Regions from separate parts of the Homo sapiens genome. Here all the other regions are linked to region 4. Evidence: promoter capture Hi-C in human tissues and cell types (Jung and others, 2019). All regions are on one chromosome and are shown on one strand. The core of a region is centred on a gene start or on the middle of the fragment in contact, and the rest is flanking DNA. Distances in the headings are between cores, read along the strand shown.

Region 1 (3,272 bases), core at 112-2,611, 190 kb before region 4:
CTGATCTTCCTTCTGTCCTTGTAATTTTGCCTTTTTAAAGTTTCACAGAAGAAGAATCACACAGCACCTAGTTTTGTGAGTTTCTTAGCATAATGCTTTTGAGGTCCATCCAAGTTTTTGAAAGTATTAATAGTCCATTTCTGCCGGGTGCACTCACCTGTAATCCTGGCACTTTGGGAGACTGAGACGGGTGGATCACTTGAAGCTAGGAGTTTGAGACCAACTTGGCCAACATGGTGAAACCCCATCTCTACTAAAAATACAAAAATTAGCCAGATGTGGCATGTGCCTGTAATCCCAGCTACTCAGAAGGTTGAGGCACAAGAATTGCTTGAACTTGGGAGGCGGAGGTTGCAGTGAGCAACATCGGGAGGCGGAGGCTGCAGTGAGATCGCGACACTGCACTCCAGCCTGGGCGACAGAGTGAGATTCCATCTCAAAAAAAAAAGTTATTTTTTTTATTTTATTACATATATAAAATTATATATGTATATATTAAATATTATAAAAATACATACAACTATTATAAAAATAGAATAAAAATAAATATTATAAAATATAAAAAATAAGTAGTATAAAAATTATAAAAATATTTTATATATATTTAGCCAGAGTCTCGCTCTGTCACCCAGGCTGGAGTGCAGTGGTGAGATCTCGGCTCACTGCAACCTCCGCCTCCCGGGTTCAAGCGATTCTCCTGCCTCAGCTTCCCGAGTAGCTGGGATTACAGGCATGCACCACTACGCTCAGCTAATTTTTGTATTTTTAGTAGAGACAGGGTTTCACCATGTTGGCCAAGTTGGTCTCAAACTCCTAATATAGGTGATCTGCCCGCCTCGGCCTCCCAAAATGCTGGGATTACAGGCGTGAGCCACAGAACTCGACCTATATATATTTATATATAAATTAAAATATAAAAATAAAAATAACATATATATTATTAGAGAAAGGGACTTTCTCTGTTTCCCAGGCTGGAGTGCAGTGGTGCAATCATAGCTCATTTCAGCCTCGAATTCCTGAGACTCAAGGGATCCTCCCAGCTCAGCCTCCTGAGTAGTGTAGTATAGGCATATGCCGCCATGCCCAGATAATTATTTTTTATTTTTTATTTTTTCTACCAACCCCTGCCTTTTTTTTTTTTTTTTTTGAGACAGGGTCTTACTTTGTTGCCTAGGCTGGAGTGCAGTGGTGTAGTCCTAGCTCACTGCAGCCTCGACCTCCCAGGCTCAAGGGATCCTCCTGCCTTAGCCTCCCAAGTAGCTAGGACTACAGGTATATGCCACTACGCCCTGCTAATTTTTGTAGAGATGGGTCTCACTATGTTGCCCATGGTCTTTATAATTTAATTATATATATATATAAATTAAAAATAATATTACACTTACAGAAAACTTAGCACTACTATAAATGGAAAACCTTTATACCTTATCATAAATCAACACAGGCAAAAATATTAAAAAGAATAATTTTTAAAGTTACACAATTCCAGCTAGCTCCTGTTGCCTGCTATCTTAGATTCTCTAGAAGTCAAGCCAGGGCTTGAGTATAAGGTGGGGATTCTTGTGCAAGTGATTTACAGGGGGGACTCCTGGTGAAGGAGGGAGGGAAACAGAAAGAGGCTAAGCAAAGGCGTGGGGCCAGCTGAAGCTCTGGAACAGGAATGGGACCAGAGTTGAACCACCTCAAGGCATGAGGGCTGGGCTTTTGTGCCTGGCATCAATCAGTCGTTGCCGCATACTTCCTCTCGGGATGATGGTATAATCTCCCACCTATTTCCAGGTGAGGCAATTTCCAAAAGAAGGGTGTGGCTGTAAAGTGCTAGCTGCCAACATTCACAGCAGCTGGGAGGTGAATGTATCAACTAGGTGACGGGGATTAGGCAGGACCAGCAGCATCTATTATACCAGTACCAGCCAAAGGCTTTAACCTAAGTTTTCCTCTCTTTTTGCTTTAGACAGGGTGTCACTCTGTCATCCAGGCTGGAATGTGCAGTGGTACAGTCATGGCTCACTGCAACCTCAAACTCCCAGGCTCAAGGGATCCTCCTGCCTCAGCCTCCCAAGTAGCTAAGACTACAAGCACACATCACTATGCCCAGCTAATTTTTTATTCTTTGTAGAGATGGGGGTCATCACTATGATACTCAGGCTGGTCTTGAACTCCTGGACTCAAGCAATCCTCCCGCATAGGCCTCCCAAAGCGCTGAGATTACAAGCGTGAACCACCACACCTGTCTGGTTTGCTATCTTTTGGAGTTAAAAAGAAATGAGAAAACGTGGCCAGGCACGGTGGCTCACACCTGTAATCTCAGCACTTTGGGAGGTCGAGGCTGGTGGATCACTTGAGGTCAGGAGTTTGAGACCAGCCTGGCTAGCGTGAAACCCCGTCTCTACTAAAAATACAAAAATTAGCTGGGAGTGGTGGTGCATGCCTGTAGTCCCAGCTACTTAGGAGGCTGAGGCAGGAGAATTGCTTGAACCCAGGAGATGGAGGTTGCAGGTTGCAGTGAGCCTACATCACACCACTGCACTCCAGCCTGGGCAACAGAGCTCTGTCTCAAAAAAAAAAAGAAAGAAAAAAGAAATTAGAAAATGTTAGAGTGATGTTAAAGACAGGTTAGCACCAAATAGAGACTTTCTCCTTAATGTCGTCAGATGATGGGAAAGAGAATTGAAAATAGACTAGCTTTCTTACTGATACACTGTTCCTTCATGCTCTGCCTGGTCTTTTTGCCAGCTCAGGTGGCCCAGTGCATCCCACACTTTGGGAAACACTGCTGTAAGGCTTTCAATGGGATCCAGCCTGCCATGGCCCCCTCAGCTCCTCTCTGCAGTGCTTTCTTACTTCCCAGCCATTTCATCCAGCAGCCTTGTGTTACACAGATGGCCCACTGTTTGCTCCCAGCTTATTCCCTGCCTTTCCAATGTTCTGCTCTATATTGCAGGAAGCTGTGTTTCCCAGGCTCCCTTGTCAAGTGGCTCTCCATAGCTTTGTGTGTTGGGAGAAAATGGTACAAGACCAGAGTACGGTAGGGTGAGATGTGGGGATCAACCATTTCCCCCCTCTTGCTCTGCATCTTCCACAGTGGCTGTGTATCATCTATGGTTCCAAGCCCTTCTGTGGCTCTGACTCCTGCCAGACAACCCTCACCTCCATGGGGCGAGCTCTCACGGGCAGCCCTGCCATGGTTCTAGCTGCTGCCACCAACACTGGCTTCTGGGCTTCATCTCCTCAACCTTGGAGTAAGAAGCTTCCTGCTGGTGCTAAGCTGT
Region 2 (3,154 bases), core at 579-3,078, 140 kb before region 4:
TTTTTTAAAAAGGCTAAGGCCGCGCATGGTAGTTCACGCCTATAATCCCAGCACTTGGGGAGGCCGAGATGGGCAGATGGCTTGAGCTCAGGAGTTTGAGACCAGCCTGGGCAACATGGTGAAACCCTGTCTCCACCAAAAATACAAAAAAATTAGCTGGGCACAGTGGCACGCACCTGTGTTTCCAGCTACTCAGGAGGCTGAGGTGGGAGGATTGCTTGAGCCTGGGAGGCAGAGGTTGCAGTGACCAAGATCTCACCAGTGCACTCCAACCTGGGTGACAGAGTAAGACTCCGTCTTGGAAAAAAAAAAAAAAAAGAAAAAAGAAAAAGGCTAAATTCTGACAAGTGTAAAGAAAAGATTTGGATCCATGGAAATGAGCATCTGTGGGTTGGGCATGAGGCAGGGGTTGTACCTAATGCACTGGACAGTTATCACTGCATTCCAATGAACTCAAGAACAACAATTACTTAAACTAATTGTCAGTATCACCTACTTCCACCAGCTACATAAAAACCTCAATGATTTTCTAATTTTTTTTTTTGATACAAGGATCTTGCTCTGTTGCCCAGGCTGGAGTGCAGTGGTGTGATCTCTGCTCACTGCAACCTCCACCTCCTGGGTTCAAGTGATTGTCCTGCCTCAGCCTCCCGAGTAGCTGAGATTACAGGCATCCACCACCACACCTGGCTAATTTTTGTAGTTTTAGTAGAGACGAAGTTTCACCATGTTGGCCAGGCTGGTCTCCAAATCCTGACCTCAGGTGATCTGCAGGCATTGGCCTCCTAAAGTGCTGGGATTACAGGCGTGAGCCACCGTGCCCGGCTCTAACTTCTTGAAAAATGTGATGCCTAGCATGTAACCTTTTTCCTAAAGAAACTTGATTATATTGAAGGAAAACTACAGTTATGGGCGAACTCATTTCCCAACCACTTGGGCTTTTGGGAACTTCCTTCAGCTACTTCCTGTTTCATTCTTGGATGCTCATGTTGTGTCTCTAACTTCTCCACCATGTCCAGGAAAATTTGTTTGGGATACTGTTTAACACATTCACCAACCTCAGACAGTGACTGGCAACAGGTGTGTCTGATAAAGAAAACATTGTTTCTGCTCTGCTGTAGGCATGTCTGACAAGTTGGGGACCTGCTTTCCTTTGCAAAGCTTATAGGAGTCTATTTGGGAGGGAGGAACCGCCTTCCAGTTTCCAGGCTGAAAAAGATTCTGTTTCGCTACCAGCAGAGCCAGGCTTGGAAGGGAATGCTAATATGTTTCCAGACCTATCCACCTAAGCTGAATGACAAATGGGTATCAGTGGTTTAATGTAAGAGGAGATAGCTATAGTTTCCTGGGCAAGAGACATCTGTGATTGCCTGGAAACAAACACAGCCCATCGGTGATTCAATAGATGGGTTTGGTCTTGTGAACTGGTCTATTGTAAAATAACTATATTGACATGAAGACACTTGGAAATCATCTGTTCAGTCTTAACTAGTTTAGCCAACTTTGACAGCATTATCTGAGAGGCTGAGGCACAAGAATCGCTTGAACCCAGGAGATGGAGGTTGCAGTGAGCCGAGATTACAAAATAAATAAATAAATAAATATCAATTTAATATAAATTCATAGCAAAACCCCCAAATAAAGATACTCTCATCAGTGCCTGTTTTATTTATTCATTTATTTTTATGTTTTTAGAGATGGAGTGTCCCTCTGTCACCCAGATGGGAGTGCAGGGGCACAATCATAGCTCACTATGGCCTCAAATTCCCAGGTTCAAGCAATCCTCTCATTTTGGCCTCCTGATTAGATGAGATTACAGGCGCACACCACCCTGCCGGGCTAATTTTTAAACTTTTTATAGGGACGGGGTCTTGCTATGTTCTTAGGTTGGTCTGGAACTTCTGGGCCTCAAGCGATCCTCTTGCCTTGGCCTCCCAAAGTGCTGGGATTACAGGTGTGAGCCACCGTGCCTGGCCAGTGCCTGTTTTATTCATAAGAGGAAAGTAATTTACATCACTGGTACCTTAACTACGGGCCAGATGCAGGACCAGAGCGTTATGTTCCATTGCAATAGATGGAATTACCATTTGATGTGATTTGAGGGGACCAGGAAGGCTCCCTATCCAGATGTGGCCTGAAAATATTTGTCACCGTTACTGAAATCCCATCAATTGGAGGATTATTTGGATAGGCTTTACAGTTTACAAAATGCTTTTCTATGGATAAACTGTCAAGGAAGCAGAGTCAACTCCCTGTTCAGAAAAGGTGCTTAGTTACCCCCACAGTGGAGCTATTTTCTTTCAAATGGAAGGTACATTTTTTTGAGAGGGGGAGTAAATTAAATTTATAATGGTGATGTTTATGTCCCACCCATAGCTACCACCCAGAATTAACCAAATCAGATTGAGCCCCGCCCAAATCTAGGTAGGAATTCTCAGAGATGGAATTAACCCGATTAAATTTGTTTTGTATAAAAGGGAAGTGGGGAAAGTAAGAAGTAACTTGGACTCTTCTAGAGGAGAGCAGGCACAAACTAAGCCAAGAAAAGCACGTTTGAGAATTCCAGAGGCAGAAGTTGCTTCTGGGTGCCTGACGTCAACGATCCAGCACTTCAAGACTGGTGTGCGGCATCCTCAGGGGACACTGTGTCCTGGGCACCCCTGCAGTTTAAGAGAATCCACTAGTTTATAAGGTAAGTCCTCGACTGTCAGCAGTGGGCCAGAGACAGACTGTTATTTTCAGATGGACAAATGCTGTTGGGTAGAGGAAGGGATGCGGGATAAGGAGGACAAAATCTGACTTTGGCAAAGCCGGGTGTTTAGAACTTTAATCGCCACGTTGGCAAGTTCTCTCTTAGTCCGTATCCATTTCACTGCTTGCAGAGCGGCCCAGGGGTTCTGGGGGCGAGAAACACATCTCACCCCAGAGCTGCTCCTCGCCCAGGACAGAACTCCTCTGCCCTTCACGACCAGGTCAAGGCCACATGGCTATGCCAAGCACATAGTCTGTAAAAATGGAAAATTTACCTCTAAACTGAAGTGAACCGAACTCTATTGACCTTCCCGTGTACTGAGGAGCTATAACTTCTCCCCAAAAATGTGAAAGTAAAATTGCAGTTTAAATCATGTAATTAGGAATACTGTAAACTAGTGTT
Region 3 (3,147 bases), core at 429-2,928, 240 kb before region 4:
ACACCTGTAATCCCAGCACTTTGGGAAGCTGAGGCAGGTGGATCACTTGAAGTCAGGAGTTTGAGACCAGCCCGGCCAACAGGGTGAAACCCCATCTCTACTAAAAATACAAAAGTTAACCAAGCATGGTATGGTGGCTCGTGCCTGTAATCCTAGCTACTCGGGAGGCTGAGGCATGAGAATCCCTTGAACCCAGGAGGTAGAGGTGCAGTGAGCCGAGACTGTGCCACTGCGCTCCAGCCTGGGGGACAGAGCAAGACTCTTGTTTTAAAATAAAATGTGTGTTGGGGGGGTGCTATCACTTAGGGTTAATGAGAGAATTCAGTTAAGCCATATGGAGCACTTAGCAGAGTTTCAGGCATACTGTCAGTGACCCCCCAAAAAAACCCAAAAACAGTTATTATTGTGCTGCTGAAAAAGTGGGGTGGGCACAGCAGCACTACAGATGTGATATCAACTGCCTGGTCAACCTGAGCCATCCCTAAGGGCCCAAAACAGGGAGAGGGGTGAGAAGGAACAGGGTATCCAGATCCCCAGTGATCATGGGTCACTATCAAGAGAAGGCAGCCTCTGCATTTACTGCTGGCTATATACCCATGGCCTGCCCTGAAAAGCCACGTGGTTCACTCTGGGCAAAAGTGTTCCAGCTTACTGGATGCACCAGTAATAACTGTAATACTTCATTGTAATAATTCATATGTAACTTAAAATGTGTACAATCATTCATTCATTTATTGATCAGTAACCACTTACTAATCACCTACTGTGTGCCAGCCACTAGAACCTGGGGTTACAGCAACAAATAAGACACACAGTGGCTGGGTGCAGTGGCTCATGCCTGTAATCCCAGCACTTTGGGAAGTCAAGGTAGGTGGATCAGTTGAGCTCAGGACTTTGAGACCAGCCTGGGCAACATCGTGAAACCCCATCTCTACAAAAAAATACAAAAATTACCCGGGCATGGTGGTGCACGCCTGTGGTTCCAGCTACTCGGGAGGCTGAGGTGGGAGGATCACTTGAGCTGGGGAGGTTGAGGCTGCAGTGAGCTGAGATGGTGCCACTGCACCCAGCCTGAACAACAGAGAGAGACCGTCTCAAAAAAAAAAAAAAAAATCACACAGCATTCCTGCTGTCATGGAGCTTATATTCTAAAGGGGCTTTGCCACATGATGCCTGTGTCCTTAACTTCTTGTCATTTAACCTTTTGATGCCTCAGTTTCCTAACCTAGGACATGGAGATAGTAATAACAGCCACCTCAGAAAGTTGTCATGAGTTTTGAATGTGTTACTATCATAAAGCACTTAGAACAGTGCAAAGCATGGAGTAAGCACTGTGTAAATGCTGACTATCATTATTCAGAGGAAGGCTGAATGAGAAACAGGTTTGGCGAAGAAGATCAAGAGTCTCCTTTGGGTGCTTGTTAATGCTGAGGTATCAGCTGAATATCCAACTTAGGATTATTGATCGGGAGTTCAGATATGTCTGGAGGTCAACAGACAGGTCTGAGTTGGAGGTATAAATCTAGGGGTAATTGGTGTATTGTTGGTATTTAAAGTCCTGAAATTAATTGAGAACAGGCTCAGGGACTCACACCTATAATCCCAGTATTTGGGAGGCCAAGGTGGGAGGATTGTTTGAGGGCAGGAATTTGACACCAGCCTGGGCAACGTAGCAAGACCCCATCTCTACAAACAAAAACTAAGAAAAATCAGCCAGGCACAGTGGTGTGCACTTGTAGTCCCAGCTACTTGGGAGGCTGAAGCAAGAGAATTGCTTGAGCATAGGAGGTGTTTTGTTTTGTTTTGTTTTGTGTGTGTGTGTGTGTGTTTTGTTTTTTGGTTTTTGGTTTTTTCTTTTTTAGACAAACTCTCCCTCTTTTCCCCAGACTGGAGTGCAATGGCACGATCTCGGCTCACTGAAACCTCCACCTCCCAGGTTCAAGTGATTCTCTTGCCTCAGCCTCCTGAGTAGCTGGGATTACAGGTGTGCACCACCACACCCGGCTAAGTTTGTATTTTTAGTAGAGGCAGGGTTTCACCATGTTGGCCAGGCTGGTCTCGAACTCCTGACCTCAGGTGATCCGCCTGCCTCAGCCTTCCAAAGTGCTGGGATTACAGGCGTGAGCCCACTGTGCCTGCCTGAGCCCGGGAGCTTGAGGCTACAATGAGCTATGATTGTGCCGCTACATTCCAGCATGAGCAACAAAGCAAGACCTTGTGTCTTTTTTTTTTTTAAGCAAATTAATTGAGATCACCAAAGGAGTAGAGATAGAGAAGAGAAACATCCCAAAGACTGAGCCCTGGGGCACCCCAAAGTTTAAGACTTGGGGCTTTGAGGAGGAATAAACAAAGGAGACTGAGAAGGGGCAGCGAGAGAGATAGGAAACCTCAAGAGTATGGGGTTCTGGAAGCTGAGCGAAGAAAAGCTTTGCAAGAAAGAGAGGAGTCAACTGTCAAATGCTCCTGAAGGCAAAGTGAGACAAGAGCTGAGAGTGGTCATTCAATGTGGCCATAGGATGGTCACTGGTAACCTTGGAGCAGTTCTGGTGAACAGGTAGAGACAAATGCTGTGTTGGAGAATATTTAAGAGAGAATGGGAGGACTTGCTGAGCATAGTATAGATATCTCTTTTGAGATGTAAAGGAAAACAAAGAAATGAGAGGTAGAAAGGAATATGAGGTCAAGGAAATTTTCTTCATTTGTTTGTTTTCACTTCTGTAAGATGGGCTTTATTTCACAATATTTGTAGTGATATGTATGTGTATTTGAAGTGTTCCTTTATGGGACATTTCAACAACGTAGTTTTATCATGGAAAAGTATAGAGATCTAGGAGAAAATGTCATGTTCTATGTCACACCATTGCATGAGGTTGGAAGTCATTTTAAATATATTGAGTAAAGTAGGGAAATTAATTCAAGGGTCCAAAAAGTTAGGCCATTGGTGTTTAATAGTTGATGTTACAGAATCATTGTAGAGCCTCGTACTTGAACATACACATTAGTCTGGTGTGACATATACGACGGTACATTGCATCTGAAAGAGAAGAGGAAAGCTGATAACTCAGAAGGAATAGAAGCAAAAATTGAAAAGCTCTTACTTGAAGGATGATGGGAAAGGGCTTTATGAAAGTCTTGGACTCTCAATGA
Region 4 (3,275 bases), core at 340-2,839:
GTGCTTGGCAGGTGAGTTTGAAGATACTTGTTGAGAGCATACGATATACCAGCATTGTCCAATAAAAATATAATGTGGACCACATATAAAATTTTAGTGGCCACATTATAAAGTAAAAACAGCAGAAATCTTAACATTTTATTAACCCCAAGTACTCAAAATATTACCTTTCCAACATTTAATCCATATAAAATGTATTAATCAAAAAGTTTTTTCAAAATCTGGCGTGTATTGTACACTTACAGCACATTTAGGGTGACCAACCTCCTGGTTTCCCTGGGACGGAGGGGCTAAAACATAGGACTTTCAATGCTAAAACAGACAATCGCAGCAAACCAGGACAACTGGCAATTCTATCATCTCAATTTGACGAGCCACATGCACTACACAGTACTGGACAGCAAAGTCATCCATCATGCATGGTGCAAAGTGGAATATACACATTATTCAATTTATTCTTCATAACTTGCCTAAGAGATGGATGCTGTCAGTTTCCAAATTGCAGAATAAAAGAAATAGAGGTTAAAGCTCTCACCCAAAGTCACACCAATAGGGCGAGGGTACTGGGCAATATAGTAGTAAGCCTGGGGCCTAAGAAATGTTATGAGTGAAGGAGCAGAGGTGAGAAGCTAGGAAAGTTCCAGAAAGGGGGACCAGCGAAAATGTGAGCAGTAAAGGCCCTTTACAAAGGGAAACAGAAGGATTAGGGGGAGAAGGAGAAGGGTGGCAGGGAGTATAGAAGAAAGGCACCCACAAATAGTGCAGTTTAGGAATGAAACAGGAAAAGTTAAAACTCACGGAGCAGAGAATGCCTCAGCGGACAAAAATGATGGGTGACAGAAAAGGGGAGGCGGATAGGAGTAAAGGGCAGTGGGGAGAAAGGTGAAAAGCGAAGGCAAGTGAAGGCAGAGATCACCGGGGAGAAAGAAAGGGCCTGGAAAGTTAAAAGCACTGGCCTAGGAGGCTGAAGACCGAGGGCGAGGAATTGCGGAGAGGGGGAAGAGGATTCAAATTAAATTATCCAGAACGGTAGGGAACTGCGTAGTTTCACCAGGTGTCAGGCACTACTTCATGAACGATCTCATTCATGGTCATGGGGCAGGTATCTGACATCCCCATTTTGCAAGTGATAGCACCAGAGAGGCGGAACCGAGCCGCGAAGGCCGCCCCGAACTGAGCCTCGCGCTCAAGGCAGGCCGTGGCCTGGGCCCAGGTCCCCGGAGGAGGCCGCGCCGCCCGCCGCCGCCGCGGGGGCAGCCAGGCCTACCTGTGCAGCGGCGGCAGGTCCTGCGCGTCGCTGGCGGGGTCAGGCGTGTTGGGGATGACGCCCAGGATGGTGCTTTGCAGCGACGTGCCCTTCAGAAGGCGGCTCCGCACCAGCTGCAGGTTGCGGGCCGAGTCCACGCTGGTGCGCATGGTGGAGCCGGGCAGCAGGACGCCCTCGTGGGTGAGCAGCAGCGGGAGGCGACTGGGGATCTGGATGGGGCTCACTGATGACATGCTGGCAGCCTTTCGCACTGGGGGCTGTCAAAAAGAGCCAGACAGACAGCTGCCCCCGGCCTGCCCCGCAGTCACCAAACCTCAGACCCGCCTCCACGCCTCCGCTTCCGGCTACGCGCTACGGTCCGTCCCCGGGCCCAAAAGCCATGGCTTCGCGCTGCTCTCTAGGAGAGCCTCCCGGTAAGACTTGAGCGTCCTACCTATGCGGAAAGACGTGCACTCAAGCGTGCAGCGACCTTCGCCTCACTTACAGAGTATATTTGGAAGGATGATCTTATTTGAATTGTATATACTTGAAGTGTTTTTAACGTTTTCTTCGATTTTTTACATATACTTGAAGTGTTTTTAACTTTTGATTCGAACTAATTATTTATTTATTTATTTATTTATTTATTCTGAGACAGATTCTCGCTCTGTCGCGGAGGCTGGAGTGCAATGGCGCGATACCCACGGCTTGCAGCCTCTGCCTCCCGGGTTCAAGCGATTCTCCTGCCTCAGCCTCCCGAGTAGCTGGGATTACAGATGCCCGCCACCACACCCAGCTAATTGTTGTATTTTTAGTAGGGAGGGGATTTCACCATGTTGGCCAGGCTGGTCTTTAACTCCTGACCTCAAGCGATCCGTCCACCTCGGCCTCCCAAAGTGCTGGGATTACAGGCGTGAGCCAACGTGCCCGGCCCGAATTGATTTTAGATGTACAAAACTACAGCAGAGTTCCTATATACCTTTCACCCAGTTTCGTCTGTTATCATCTTACATAATCATAGTTCAATGATCAAAACCAGGAAATTAACATTATTATCGTTTAACCTATAGGCCTTACCCAAATTTTGCCAGTTTTCCCACTAATGTCCTTCATTGGATCTGGTCCAGGATCCAATATCCAGGATCCTGTTGTGAAATCTCCTAGGTGTTTTGTTATGAAATCTCCTAGGTGTTCTCTAATCTGTGGCAAGTCCTCAATTTTTTTTTTTTTTTTTTTTTTTTGAGACGGAGTCTCGCTCTGTCACCCAGGCTGGAGTGTAGTGGCGAGATCTCGGCTCACTGCAAGCTCCGCCTCCCGGGTTCATGCCATTCTCCTGCTTCAGCCTCCCGAGTAGCTGGGGACTACAGGCACCCGCAACCACGCCCGGCTAATTTTTTGTATTTTTAGTAGAGACGGGGTTTCGCCATGTTAGCCAGGATGGTCTCAATCTCCTGACCTCGTGATCTGCCCGCCTTGGCCTCCCAAAAGTGCTGGGATTACAGGCCTGAGCCACTGCGCCCGTCCAATTTTTTTTTTTTTTACAACCTTGATACTTTTATTTTTTTTCTGTTTTTAATTTAATTTTATTTTTTATTATAGTTTAAGTTCTAGGGTACATGTGCACAACGTACAGGTTTGTTACATATGTATACATGTGCCATGTTGGTTTGCTGCACTCACTAACTCGTCATTTACATTAGGTATATCTCCTAATGGTATCCCTTCCCCCCCACTCCCCACCACCCAACGACAGGCCCCTGAGTGTGATGTTCCCCACCCTGTGTCCAAGTGTTCTCATTGTTCAGTTGCCACCTATGAGTGAGAACTTGCAGTGTTTTGTTTTCGGTCTTTGCGATAGTTTGCTCAGAATGATGGTTTCCAGCATCATCCATGTCCCTACAAAGGACATGAACTCATCCTTTTTTATGGCTGCATAGTATTCCATGGTGTATATGTGCCACATTTTCTTAATCCAGTCTATCATTGATGGACATTTGGGTTGGTTCCAAGTCTTTGCTATTGCGAATAG

Evidence for each region. Contacts are between HindIII fragments. The study calls those that stand out against the background at their distance.
Region 1: a contact is called between a fragment that was not itself captured here and the fragment with the promoter of LONP2 in region 4, in 1 of the 25 tissues and cell types used here (spleen).
Region 2: a contact is called between a fragment that was not itself captured here and the fragment with the promoter of LONP2 in region 4, in 1 of the 25 tissues and cell types used here (spleen).
Region 3: a fragment that was not itself captured here is called in contact with the fragment with the promoter of LONP2 in region 4 in 1 of the 25 tissues and cell types used here (hippocampus).

The regions. Positions count from the first base shown.
Region 1 is chr16:48,437,118-48,440,389 of GRCh38, reverse strand. No RefSeq gene overlaps it. Among named protein-coding and RNA genes, the nearest start is that of SIAH1, 53 kb to the right of the region's middle. The HindIII fragment of the contact is 6,532 bases long and covers 1-3,272 here.
Region 2 is chr16:48,386,592-48,389,745 of GRCh38, reverse strand. It overlaps a transcript of SIAH1 not described here. Among named protein-coding and RNA genes, the nearest start is that of SIAH1, 2.8 kb to the right of the region's middle. The HindIII fragment of the contact is 6,781 bases long and covers 1-3,154 here.
Region 3 is chr16:48,487,775-48,490,921 of GRCh38, reverse strand. No RefSeq gene overlaps it. Among named protein-coding and RNA genes, the nearest start is that of SIAH1, 100 kb to the right of the region's middle. The HindIII fragment of the contact is 3,451 bases long and covers 1-3,147 here.
Region 4 is chr16:48,242,614-48,245,888 of GRCh38, reverse strand. It overlaps LONP2 (lon peptidase 2, peroxisomal), which reads right to left and starts at 1,589. Exons shown (of 15, transcript NM_031490.5): 1 at 1,268-1,589. The coding sequence starts at 1,500. The region is part of intron 1 of ABCC11 (ATP binding cassette subfamily C member 11); the gene reads left to right. RefSeq lists an enhancer at 1,564-1,653. The HindIII fragment of the contact is 28,002 bases long and covers 1-3,275 here.